Linked DNA regions of Homo sapiens: region 2 is linked to region 1. The links are contacts of gene promoters, found by promoter capture Hi-C in blood cells and fetal thymus (Javierre and others, 2016). All regions are on one chromosome and are shown on one strand. Each heading gives the region's core, a stretch centred on a gene start or on the middle of the fragment in contact. The rest is flanking DNA. Distances are from core to core; before and after follow the strand shown.

The links. Contacts are between HindIII fragments. The CHiCAGO score rates a contact against its expected background, and 5 or more counts as called.
Region 2: a fragment that was not itself captured here is called in contact with the fragment with the promoter of LINC00469 in region 1 in 1 of 17 cell types (naive CD4 T cells); the score reaches 5.1 in naive CD4 T cells.

Annotation. Positions count from the first base shown.
Region 1 is chr17:73,825,137-73,831,963 of GRCh38, forward strand. It overlaps LINC00469 (long intergenic non-protein coding RNA 469), which reads right to left and starts at 3,401. Exons shown (of 4, transcript NR_027146.1): 1 at 3,312-3,401. RefSeq lists enhancers at 2,738-3,247, 4,238-4,739, 4,740-5,239. The HindIII fragment of the contact is 4,592 bases long and covers 1-3,935 here.
Region 2 is chr17:73,662,856-73,669,436 of GRCh38, forward strand. No RefSeq gene overlaps it. Among named protein-coding and RNA genes, the nearest start is that of SDK2, 22 kb to the left of the region's middle. The HindIII fragment of the contact is 1,871 bases long and covers 2,894-4,764 here.

The DNA of each region.
Region 1 (6,827 bases), core at 2,151-4,650:
GCCCAGGTGGACAGGAGCAGCCACGAGGGGCCCACCGTGAATCAGATCGTCTGTGGAACAGGAGAGAAGGGCCCTGCCACCTGCTCAGGCAGCCCCCACAGCAGATAGTTGTAGATTTCCAGAGCTTCAGCTTCCCTTTCAAGAGTGGAGGGGAAAAAAAGCAAGAGGAAGGCCTGGGGGCTAGGGCAACCCACCCACCAGACAATGATCACAGACCAGCCACCATCAGCCACAAATTCTGCAGCTCAGGTCTAATAGTAATCACTGGTGCTGTAAACATTTAAGCACCTACTGCCTTCTGGTACGCATATGGGCATCAGCATGGTAAGTAGCGAAGAGCATGGATGGACCCTTGAACCAGACTCCAGCTTGAATTCCAACTGCCACTTAATGGCTGTATAACCTTAATCTCTCTGTGACTTAGTTTCCTTGTGTATAAAGTGTGGGACCTACCTCATCGGGGTCACTATCCATAGCTTAATTTTTATAAAGTGCTTAGGAAAGTATTTGACACGTGGTAAGCACTAATATAAAGAGGTGTAAAGAAAAATCATGCCTATAATCCTAGCACTTTGGGAGGCTGAGGTGGGTGGATCACTTGAGGTCAGGAGTTCAAAATCAGCCTGGCCAACATGAAGAAACCCCGTCTCTACTAAAAATAGAAAAAAATTAGCTGGGCGTGATGGTGCACACCTGTAATCCCTGCTACTCAGGAGGCTGAGGCAGGAGAATTGCTTAAACCCGGGAGGCAGAGGTTGCAGTGAGCTATCGCACCACTGCACTCCAGCCTGGGCAACAGAGCGAGACTCTGACTCAAAAGAAAGACAAAAATTAAATTACCAGATTTAATCCCCATGGTAACCCTAAGAGGTAGGGACTGTTATCGTCCACATTAATAGACAGGACACTTGGAACACAGAGAGGCTGAGACCCAGGTCCAGAGTCACACAGCTCGTCTGAGGCAGAGCCTGGATTCAAATCCAAGCAGTCTGGCTTTCTGTAGGACTGTGTCCTCTCTCCAAGGGGAGGATGGAGCTTGACCACCTGTGTTCAGGTCCTGGCTTACCCATCAATTAGCTTGGGCTCCAATATCCTCCTCTGAAGTCAAGGAGGTTCCCCAGATGTCGTGGATGACTCCCATGAGTGGCTCTTAGAGGCCAGGAGGCCTGGGTGTCTAGTCAGTGTCCTGGCCTCAGTCCTGGCCTCTGGGACAAGGGAATTGTGGATAGGGGAGCAGCTGTCCCTGAGCAGGGTGGATGGATGTGGCAGTTTCCAGCCCAGCTCACTGCACCCGCTGTCAGCCGTTATTGAAACACATAGCCAGGGCTGGGTAACAAGACGGCCACAGAAATGATCTGAAGTGGATTTAATCATTGCCCTGGTCCCTGCCAACTCTTGTCCACTTAGGGGTTTTGCCTGTCTCGCTCGGACTTGACAGTCTGGACACTCAAGGTGATGAGCTGCCCAGAGCACCCAAGACCCAGACTCCACCCAGGACTGTCCTCTCCTGGACCACCTGCCTGAAACTTCCATCCTGACCCTTCTCCACCTTCTCAATGGGACCTGGGGTGAGAGCCCAAGCTGGGAGCGCCGGCCTGGCATTGTGTAGTTTAGACAAGTCCTTGAAGCAGGGCAGGTGGGGGAATGGGGAGGAGTCGGGGGCTCAGGCCCCCATGTTCCTCCCCAGCACAGCCTCACCTGCTCTGCCTCAGAGTGACTCAGGACAAAATCCCCAGGTGGCTCTGATGGTACTTGAAGTGACAGAGGGAAGGAGGAATCTGGAATGGAGACCCCAGCCCCAGGCCCTTGAGCTCAACCCAGCACCAGCCCCCAGACCTGTTCACTCTTTGGCCTTCCAGGGCCAGCCCCAGGCTGGGCTGTCACTGATGTGGGTGAGCAGGAGTGGTCCCCGTTCCTCACAGGGGCTTCTCTCTATGCACACCTCACATCATCCCCCGACCTCCAGGCATAAACCAGCCTTGCAGCCCTGACTCCAGACCTGTCCAGAGAAAGTGCCACCTGCCTGGGGAGCTGATGCAGATGAGAGGGAAGGAGAGAGAGACAGTGTCCCCTGCACCATGCCCTGAACTTCCCAAGGGACCTTCATCAAGCTCCCCTGGGGGCTGTATTGTTAAAATGCACAGATTCTTGGACCTCGACTCTGGACTTCCAGAAGCGAAATCTCTGCGGGGGTGGAGGAATTGGGCACTGATTCTAATGAAGTCCCCAGGGCAATCTCACCTGCTTTAGAGCAGAGGTTGGTACCCTGGCTGCACATCAGAGTCTCATGGGAAATCTAAACACATCCGTTCCAGGGCCTCACCCCCAGACCAAGCAGACCAGTGTCAGGGCTGGACATCAGGCATTCGTATTTTGTAAAAAATGATTAAAATGTGCACCCAGGGTTGAGAACTGCTTCAGAATTTGCAGACCTCCAGCTGGGTCTGACCCAGGAAAACAGGAAACAAGAGAGATGGTGTCAGCTGGGGCCCTTCACTGGTGGGGCCAGGTGGGTGGGGGGAACATCCCCACGATCCAGGCGACCCCCACCGCTGGCCAGGCAACCTCATGGCTGAAGGCGAGGAGGGACGCAGGCACGAGGGCCTTGGCGTAAGGAAGCTGGCTCTGCAGTCAGGCCCTGCCCTGGGGCTGTTCAGATGCCCAGGAGGGCAGGTTTATGCGAATGAAGCAATTACAGAACCATTTAAAAGAGTGAGGGAACTTGGTCCAGAAATGCCTGTGGAGCTTTCAAAAGGGGTGAGTGACCTCATCCAGCCAAGAAAGGGTCTGGGAGAGAAGCTGGAGGCCGAGGTCTTCAGTCTAGGCTAGGGGAGGGGAGAGAACGTTTAAGAGGGTGGCAGGCATTCCTGTCCCAAGTCACCAACTGGGTAGCGCTCTTGTTTGTCTTATGCAAGAGTGTTTAGATAAGAACAGGCTTTTGCATTTCAAAAAGGAGCCTGTTCTTCCTCGCCTTGCTTCTTCCTGTGCTGAGTAAACGGAAGGCACACCCTTGTTTCCCTCCCTATTCACAGCTCCTCTGTCCGCCACAAAGACAACCTCCTCCCCTTCTGCCCTCGTCTTCTGCCTGTGGACATTCAAGGGACCCCGCTCCTCCTTCATCCTTTCTCTCCTGCACGAATGAATCGTTTCCCGTGAATCTGCTCTTTGAAAAACCCCTTCCTAACTTCCATCTCTCTTCCTCTGCTCTCTTTGATGCCATCGCTTCTTAAAAGGGAGGCCTAGACTCACTGCTGTCTCACTTTTGTACGTTTATTTTCATCATGGTAAAATATACATAGCATAATATTTACCATTTGAGCCCTTTTAAGGTGTACAATTCAGTGGCATTTACATTCAAAACATTGTGCAACCATCCTGATGATCTATTTCCAGAGCTTTTTTTTTTTTTTTTAAATCATCCCAAACAAATTCTGGAACTGTGAGATAATAATGTCCCATTCTTTTCTCCTCCCAGTTCCTGGTAACCTCCATTCTTTCTGTCTCTATGAATTTGCCTATTGTAGAAACCTCGTGTAAGTGACATCATTCCATATGGGGCCTTTGTGTCTGGCTTATTTCACCTAACATCATGTTGCAGCAAGGTTCATTTCATTTCTTTTTATGGCTGAATAATATTCCCTCGTACAGATGGACAGCAGGTGTTGACCTATTCATCGGTTGTCTATTCGGCCTCCACAATCCACTGTTTTCATCCCTTCTTGCTGTCTCTACTTCTATGACCCTGGCCTAAGTCACCATTTTCTTCCACCAGAGTGCTCAGTGGCCTCCTCTGAGATTTCACTCTTTTTTTTTTCTTTTAAACAGCGTTATTGAAATGTAATTCATATATTATGTAATTCTCCCATTTAAAGTGGACAATTCAGGCTACTCTGCCTATGGAGTGGCCATGCTTTTGTTTCTTTACTTCTCTAATAAGCTTGCTTTCACTTAAAAAAAAAAAGTATACAATTCAATGGTTGCTAGTATATTCCATGTAGCTGCAATCGTCACCGTGGTCCATTTTACAGCATTTGTATCACCTCAAAAAGAAGCTCTGACCCTTCAGCTATCTCCCCTCCCCAACGCTCACCCTTACAGCCCTAGGCAACTAGTAATCTACTTTCTGTCTCTAGAGATTTGCCTCTTCTGGGCATTTTGTCTAAATGGAATCATACAATCCGTGGTCTTTTGTGAATGGCTTCCTTCACTTATCGTGATGGTTCCCGGGTTCATTCATGCTGTCCTATCGGCACTTCATTCCTTTCTATGGCCAAATAACTACCTCATTGTATGGATTCATTGGTGGACATTTATGTCGTTTCTATCTTTGGGCTATTACAAATAATGCTGCTTTAAACATTTTGTACAGGTTTCTGTATGAATATATGTTTTCGTTTCTCGTGGGTCTATACAGAGGAGTGGAACTGTGGGTCACACGGTAACTCTGTGTAATCGTTTGAGGACCTGCAGGCCACAGTGGCTGTCCTGCCTCCTCTCTTGCCTCTTTCAAAACTCCTCTTCACAGAGCAGCTGATGCGATCTTTCAAAAATGAACTTCAAATCATGTTTCATCTTTCTTGTAAAATCCTTCAATGACTTCCCAGCGTTCTTAGAATAAAACAAACATCATCACCATGGTCTACAAGACCCTGTGGCTGGGCACCAACTCCTTCTGGGACCATCCCTGCCTGCCTGTAGGGCTCCCGCTCCTTTGGGCGTCCCGGCCGCTGCTCCAGCAGGCCTAGGAACTTTCTCGTGAAGTCATCTGCGCTGGCTCCTCCCTCTGCTGGAACAGTCTTCGCTCTTGTTTCAGCCTCCTGTGGACGCTGTAACCAATTGCCATCAACTGGGTGCCTTCAAACAACAGAAATGGCTTCTCTCATCATTGTGGAGGCCCAGCTCTAAAGTCAAGGTCTTGCCAGGGGCCTGTTCCCTCTGAAGGCTGTGGGAGAGCATCCTCTTTGCCTCTTCCAGCTGCAGGTGGTTACCACCAATCCTCCGGGTTCCCTGGCTTGTAGCTGCATCGCTGCAGCCTCTGCCACTGTTGTCACGAGGCCATCTCCCTCTGCGTGTCTGTGCTTTCACTGTCTTTCCTCTGTGCATGGCTGTGTCTCTTCTCCCTTCATATGAGGACACAAATCATATTGGGTTAAGGGCCCATCTTACTCTAGTATGACCTCACATTAACTACATCTGCAATGATCCTATTTGCACATAAGATCATATTCTGGCAGGGCATGGTGGCACACGCTGCAATCCCTGCACTTTGGGAGGTCAAGGTGGGAGGATTGCTTGAGGCCAGGATTCAAGACCAGCCTGGGCAACACACTAAGACCCTGATTCTTTAAAAAAAAAAAAAAAAAAAAAAAATTCTGAGGTTCCTGGAGAAAATATGAATGGTGGTGGGGGCAGGGGAGGGCACTATTCAACCCTGTATAGCACAGTTCCTCATGTCCCAGCTCAGATTTCAACTCCTTCTCACCCACTATCCCCACCCCAGCTCCCCTCTCCCAGGGCACCTTTCTGGTTTCTTTTTGGCACCTTCACAAGCTGTAAGTAGGTGTTGTTGTTGGTTATTCATCCATTTCCCCTACTGGGTGAAAGCTCCCTGAAGGCTGCTCCTTGTCTATCAAGCTCATCACTCTGCCACTGTGATCCACTGCCTGATGCAGGGTGACTCTTCAGCAACGTGGAAGGAGACAGGGAAGATCCTGGTCCTGCAAGAGGAAGCCTGGACACAAGGTGTGCATGGGCCCCGAGCAGTCCACCAACACACGCTGTGGCGTGTATCAGCACTTCCTTCCTTTACATGGACAAATGCGATCCCATCATATGGACACACACACTCCGTTTATCCATTCACCAGTTGATGGACATTGGCATCGTTTCCATCTTTTAAAAAGAACATATAGTTGTACATATTTATGGGGTATAGTGTGATGTGTCCACACATGTATAGCTTGTGTAAGGATCAAATCAGGGTAATTAGCAAATTCATCACCTCCAATATTTGTCATGTCTTTGCGGTGAGCACATTCGAAGTCCTCTCTTCTAGGTATTTTGAAATATTCCGTACATTAGTATTAACAATAGCCACTCTTCTGTGCCAGAGAAGAACAGAATGTTTTCCTCCCATCTAATTGTATGTTGTTTTCATCATGGTGTCCACCGTGAGGCCTTGGCCTTTGGCGTACCAGTCACTGAGTGCTCAGTGGGTGACTCCAGCCCATCTCAACAACGTTGGTGACAGTGTCAGCTCTCAAGGGCAGGATTCAGTCATCCAACCCACTTTGCACCTCCAAGCATCGATGACAGGTGGGTATTCAGAAAACGTGCTGAAAACTTCATGGAAGCTACAGCTCGACTCCCAAGAGAGAAGCCTGTCTTTGAAGTGCCTGTGGAATGAGAATGACCTTCCTCTGTCAAACTTCCTTTCCAGTATGATGTTTTAGTCAATCCAGAGATGTATTCCTTCCTGTGCATTGGGGATGGACTTGCATCTGGGGAGGGTGTCTGGGGTCAGATCATCCCAGGCCACTAGGACCTGAGGTGTTGAAAATCCTGGAGGATCACTGCTGTACCCAGTGCATTGACGGCCCCACTCTCCTGGCCGTCTGCCTTCTACAGCCTCTGCTGAGATGAAGGCAATTTGGCTGGATGTGGTGAGGAATCTGTACAGGGAAGAGAGGCTGTTGCAGAGGAGGCAGCTGTAGGAGCGTCAGCACCCAGGAACGCACTCTCTGGAGCCTGGTGCAGAAATAGCACCCACTGCGTGTGGTGAGTGTCTGGTGTCTGGCATTCTGTGATGCTCTTCGGTTTTAAGACAC
Region 2 (6,581 bases), core at 2,579-5,078, 160 kb before region 1:
GACAACATCGTTCAAATCACAGCACCTTCCCTTCTAGTGGCCATCTAAGCCGTCAGATGAAGCTGGTTACAAAGCTGATTCATTCTTCCTCCTGAGAACAGGGGGAAAAATTACTCTCTACCACAGCCTTACCTTTTGCAAAAGGAAACCTCTTCATAACTGCCAAGGTTTTGTGTTTTTAGTGAGAAAGTGTGTTGTGTTTTATCAAATTTCTCTTCAATACCCATTGAAATGATCAGAATGCTTATTCCCTTAATTTGTTAATGTAAAAAATTACATTAATACATTTCCCAATGTCAAACCAACCTTTAATTCCTAAAACAAATTAAACTTGAGTATATTGTATTATTCTTTTAATACACTAAAGAATTTGATGTATATATACATTTAGAGACAGTATCTTGCTCTGTCACCCAGGCTGGAGTGCAGTGGCATAATCATAGTTCACTGCAGCCTCGCACTCCTGGGTCCAAGTGATCCTCCTGCTTTGGCCTCCCAAAGTGCAGAGATTATAGGTGTGAGCCACCATGCCTGGCCTTTCACCTCTCATTTTTATTAATGAGGTTGGCTCTTAGGTGTTTGCTTGCTTTTTTATGCCATTCTGGGTTTGGTACCAGGTCATGGTACTTCATAGAATTAATGTGAAACATGTTCATTTCCTATGCTCCTGAATAGTTTCTATATCATGGGAAAAAACTCTTCCTTGAAGATTTAGTAGAACTTGTTCATGAACTCCCTACAATCATGACCTTGAGCCATAGTCCTGTTTGCCATCAGCTTCATTCCCTGCCTTTGCCCTGCTTTGCTCTGTATCTCAGAGAACTGCATTTTCAGGCTTGTTTACCCTCAGGCTTCCAGGTGGGTTGGCCAATGGGAGGCACTGGCTCAAAAATGGAGGAAAGAAAGTGGTGAGAAGCAAAGACATTCCCTTCCTGTCCTCCAGCCCCCATTTTAGATAGCTGACAGCACCTGCATTGCTTTTGTGGCTCCAGTCACTGTTCTCAGCCCCTGCCCCAATGGGCCCAGTTCCCACTGAACTGGTCTCTGATATAAGTGCCTCCACCCTTTGTTCTTACAGCTTTCTACTGTTGCTAAGCAACCCTAATGGGTTTCTCCGCTCTATGATCACCTATGTAACCAATTCCTGTATTAAACTCCCCTGGTTTGAAATACCTAGCATGATTTCTACGTTCTGACTGGTTCTTGATTCATTAAGACCTTGATTTGATACCTCTCCTTTAATCAATTTTGATCATGTACTTTTTCTTAAGGAGTCATCTATTTCTTGCTGAATTTAAAATTTGTTAGAATAAAGTTGTATATATTATCTTACAATTTTAAGAATCATCTTTACTTTAGTAGTTATGTTCCCATTTCTGTTTCTTAAGTTACTTATTTTTATGTGAATGTGTGTTTCATGATCAAAATTGTCAGACATTTGTTTACTCTATTAGTATTTTGCTGGGGACTTTACATAAATCCTTTTCTAAGCTTTACATCAACTTCACAAAGAAGGTTTATATTGTGAGAAAAGGGCAGCAGAAAATTACTCCTTTACTTGCCTGAGACCATATGCCTATTAAATTGCAAAACTGGAACTAGAACTCAGATCTGTCTGAATTCAAAACTCATACTCTCCTCACTTTTTCAGACAGCATGAACACTCTGGGTGAGATTAAAAGGATCATCATAAATAGGCTTGACATTTTCTACAAAGAACACGAATTTCTTTTGTAACTGGAAAAGAAGTTAATTAAGCTTAAACAAATAATTATAAAAAAATAGCCTTGAAAGGAGAGGATATGTCACATCACGGCAACTTAGCCCTTTGAAATCTTTGTGAAAGGCAGGCATATGTCACTAGGTAGCCAGCTGTATCAGTGAATCCTGCTCGACCCTGGGTTTAGTAGTTGGTTGAGCCCTGGGTCTCCCCTTCCTCACCAGGTTACATCCTCTTTGGAAGCAGAAGTTTCCCCAAAAGGTGAAGGTCATGTTAATTACCCCAAAGGTGCTTCTCCTGGCACTGTTCACTAAAGTATGCTTTGAAGAAATGGCCACCTTGCCTCACCCATCATGGCACATACGGTTTGGAAATTCACTCTGCTCTTTCTCCAGGTTGGAAGAGTGACCGGAGGTGCTGAGGTTCTCTGTGGAGACCAGGCTGATCCCTACCGGTGGTGTAGGTTGCTCATTCTCCTTGACTGGGGCAACCAGAGAAGGATCATTTTCTATTCCTACTTCCTCTCCAGTCCTGAGCTCAGCTTCTGATGGCAGAAGAGCCCTGAAACCTCCTAAAATAGCCTCCTGCTGGAGAGAGGTAATGCAATGCATACCACAGTATGCATATTGATTTCTATTTTTGGTTCTTATCAAGATTTATTTTGCATCGCTTCAGGTAATAGTGACCTTGGACTCACCGCCTTCCATATTTGCAGCCTGGGTCAATGAATCTTGGTATTGACCTCAGGAGCCATCAATAGCTGCTTATTGTCGAGATATTTCAATGTCAATAAGTGGCCCCATGGAAGTGGGAGGGGGGCTGCCCAGCAAACCCAGCAGCTAAAAAACCAATCCCTTTTCTCCCAGTTGTCATCTTGGCACAGAAGGGGCTGGTTCTAAAATTGATTAACTTTCTTGCAGAGAGTGGGAAAACAAACTCCCAAACATAGCCTGAATCCTGCAAAGGGAACTTTCTCAGAATTACTATCCATTACTATGAAAGGAGAGAAACACCCATGTGTGTTCTGTCTCTGTCTTCCCTCCCTCTCTCTCCCTCCCGCGTCTCCCTTCTTCCTGACTTTCCTCCCCTCCGTGTCACATTCAATCCTATAGGGACATCCACAAGACTTTGGAAAGAGATACCTGGTTACTGGAACAGGTATTAACCCACCCAAGCTTACCTGATTGAAGATCAGGCAGATTGATCTAGTAAAAAGAGTTTGCCTTGTGGCATCAGACACTCCTAGGAGCAAATCCTGGAGTGTTATGACCGACACGTGTTTTCATCTGTACTGTGGGCATACTACCTACCTTGATGTGAAGAATGGAGATTCTGTCTGTATGTGACCGGCACCTAGTAGGTGTTTCATAAATCCAAGTTCAGGCTTTATTATTATGATACTTGCCAAGTTGAGAGGTCAGGACTCTCCACTTGTAGTTTCTGCTCTCACTCCCTCACATTCTCTGCCATATTCATTTATTCCTGCTTCCCCACTGATAAAAAGATGAAAAAAATGGACATGTGGCTGCGCTGAAATCCTCTTGGTATGGTTTGTATGTGTGTCCCCACCCAAATCTCATGAGAAATTGTAATCCCCAGTGTTGGAGGAGAAGCCTGGTGGGAAGTGAGTGGATCCTGGGGACAGGTTTTCTTCTTGCTCTTCTCATGATAGTGAGTGATCTGGTTGTCTAAAAGTGTGTAGCACCCTCTCCTTCGCTCTATTCCTCCTGTTCTGGCCGTGGAAGACGTGCCAGCTTCCACTTTGCCTTCTGCTATGATTGTAGGTCTCCTGAGGTCTCCCTAGCCATGCCTCCTGTGCAGCCTGCAGAAATGTGAGTCAATTAAACCTCTTTTCTTTATAAATTACCCAGTTTCAGGTAGTTCTTTAGAGCAACGTGAGAACAGACTAATATCTCTCTCTTATGATCAAACTGTGTTAATCTGTCTTTACTGGCCATGCTTTCAGCAATTGGCCCACTTATTCATCCACCTTGGTATGCCTGGCCTGGCTGCATGAAGGCACAGCTGATCTTGGGCACAGTTCTCCAGGCCCAGGGCAGGGGCAGGGGCTGTCTGTGGCCTCTGCTGGGCAGCATTGTTTCAGCTTCCTTCTGTGTGAGTACTGTGGCTCCCTGTTCCCGTCTGCTTTCTCTCTCTTCCTTTCTTTCTCCGTGGTCACCTCTAAGCTCCCAGCAGCCCTGGTGATGAATCTCTCCCACCTCTTCTTTCCCTAGGCCCTGCCCTGCTGAGGGTGGCTTGGACTGAGTGCAACTTTGGAGATGATGGAGAAGGAGAAGGAGAAAGCGAACACCCTACTGTGCCTTGACTCTGCCTTTCGGCCAGAGTGGTGACTTTTCCCGATGGTGATGGAAAGATGCTCACACAGAGGTGGGTAGAAGATGCCAGGAAAGAGAAGAAACCTGGTGCTCACACGTTGCAAACAGGATTTCACTGAGTGCTCAAAATAATCCTGGGTGGTAGGCATTAGTATACTCATTTAACAGATAGGAAAACAGAGGCTCAGAGAGTTTAAGAGATGAGATTGGAACTCTGTCTGACTCCAGTCTCATGCATAATTGAACATTTGTGTTGGAAAGAAGGATTCTGGGGACGGAGGAGACATATGAGGACTTTCAAGCATCTGATTTGGTTAAAGAGTTGTAATAGATGCCCTTGATGTCCTTATCCTGCCCTGGATCTGAAATTCTAAGAATAGAAACAGAGAGCACCAAACTTGCTCAAGACCATTTCCTGGTACAGCAGCTCAGTTCTCAAAGCCCTGTTTCCTGTCAGGGGTAGATTTAACCAACCATGGGCCAGCTTTGGGCAGATTTCCAAATCCTCTGCCTAGTGCCACCTCTGGACACTGGCTCTTGGTGCCAAAAATGTAACTTCAAAGCAAACACCCCAAACTTAGAATAATCAGGCTGAATTTTAAATTTGCATATGCACATAAACACTTGTCCACTCACTCAGTCCCCTCCCAACGAAGCAGAAAGTAAAAGATCACGTGAGCCAGCAGTAACTATGTCTAATGGCGATGAAGCTTCAGGACAGAGGCAGGAGTTTGCTCTTTTATTTATTTATTCATGAACGCCACAAACACGTATTGCACGCTTACCATGTGTCAGACAGGGCATGAGGACTTGATCACAAAAGATGGAAATCACGTGTTAATTGTTGAGTAAGCACATTTTGGTTTAGTGATGAGTGTATTCTGTGGATAATGTATGTATATGTATATAGTACATATATGCACGTGTGTGTGTGCATTTGGGTGCATGTGTATATATGTATACAATTTATTAACTACAGGGTTTTTGCTGTCAAGGAACTCAAAGTTCAACAGAGAAGACAGACATGAAAACAATTATGATATTTTGAGAAAAATAGCTTTAATGTAGGCAGGATCAAAGAACAGAGGAGACTAGTATAAGAAGTGCCCAAGGCTATGGGGAAATTGGGAAAGACTTCAAGGAGGAAGATGTGGAGGCTGAGGGAGCATCTTCCAGATAGACAAGAGGCTCAGGAGCTGCCCGGGCAGAAGGAACATACATTCACTTAATCACTGCTTATTAGAACATCTGCTTCTGGTTAGAATGGATTTTTGCTATCAGTTAGGATGCAGAAAATTACAAGAGACCATCACTTTGATTTTCTTTCCCCCAAACAAAAACAAGCTACATAAGTTACAAAATCACCTCTTTTAAAATCCATCAGAGAGCTGAGGACATAAATTTGCAAGCCCTTCCTAGGACAGAAGAGACTCATGACTGGAGGGTGGTGAGAGGAGGGGTAAACCCAGCATGGATAGGGGTACAAAGAAACAAGCCAAACTATAATCAACTTTTTTATTTTTTATTTTTTTTTTGAGATGGAGTCTCACTCTGTCACTCAGGCTGGAGTGCAGTGGCACAGTCTCGGCTCACTGCAACCTCTGCCTCCTGGGTTTAAGCAATTCTCCTGCCTCAACCTCCCGAGTAGCTGGGACCACAGGTGCGTGCCACCACATCCGGCTAACTTTTTGTATATTTTAGTACAGATGGGGTTTCACCGTGTTAGCCAGGATGGTCTCTATCTCTTGACCCCGTGATCTGCCTGCCTCAGCCTGCCAAAGTGTAATCAACTTTTAATAGTCATGTAGAGGCCAACATGACAGATTTGTAGCCCGTGGATCCCAGTCACAATTCCCACCTTTACCTCCAAATGTATGGCTATGGTGGAGGCAAATCAGGAGAGCTGAGATATGTCCTTGGTGTGTTCCAGGATGTCACCAAGGGCAAGGCAGATGCCAGCGAGAGGACATGGCCAGAGAAGTGGAATGAAGAGACATCACCCCAGAGGGAAAGCCGAACTCAGTGGACCCAAAAGCCAAAGCAGAGCGCGATCAGCTGTGGTTCAGAAGACTTGCTGGAATTCAGATCCCGAATCCTGCTGCAGGGATCCAACCCTCAAAACATTTGAAGTCCATAGTGAACTGGCTGTCACTAGAGCTGAGACTCAACTCAACTCAACCACAGAATAAGTTGACTCAGCCTCTCACTTCAGTGAGTAATTATACTTTAGACTATATTACTATATATGTATTATATATAATTGTAATATAATTATATAATATATGATATATAATATATAAGAAATAATATATAATATATGATATATAGATTAAGTAATGCATGTATATTATATGCATATTATATGGTGTATATATAGTATATATACATATATACTATATAGTAGAAATTATATAGTATTTATTTATATTATATAGTATATATATTTCTTACTTCCTACTTTCTACTTCCTTTTGTGTGAGTATGGTGGCTTTCTATTATATTATATTATATCTTATTATATTATA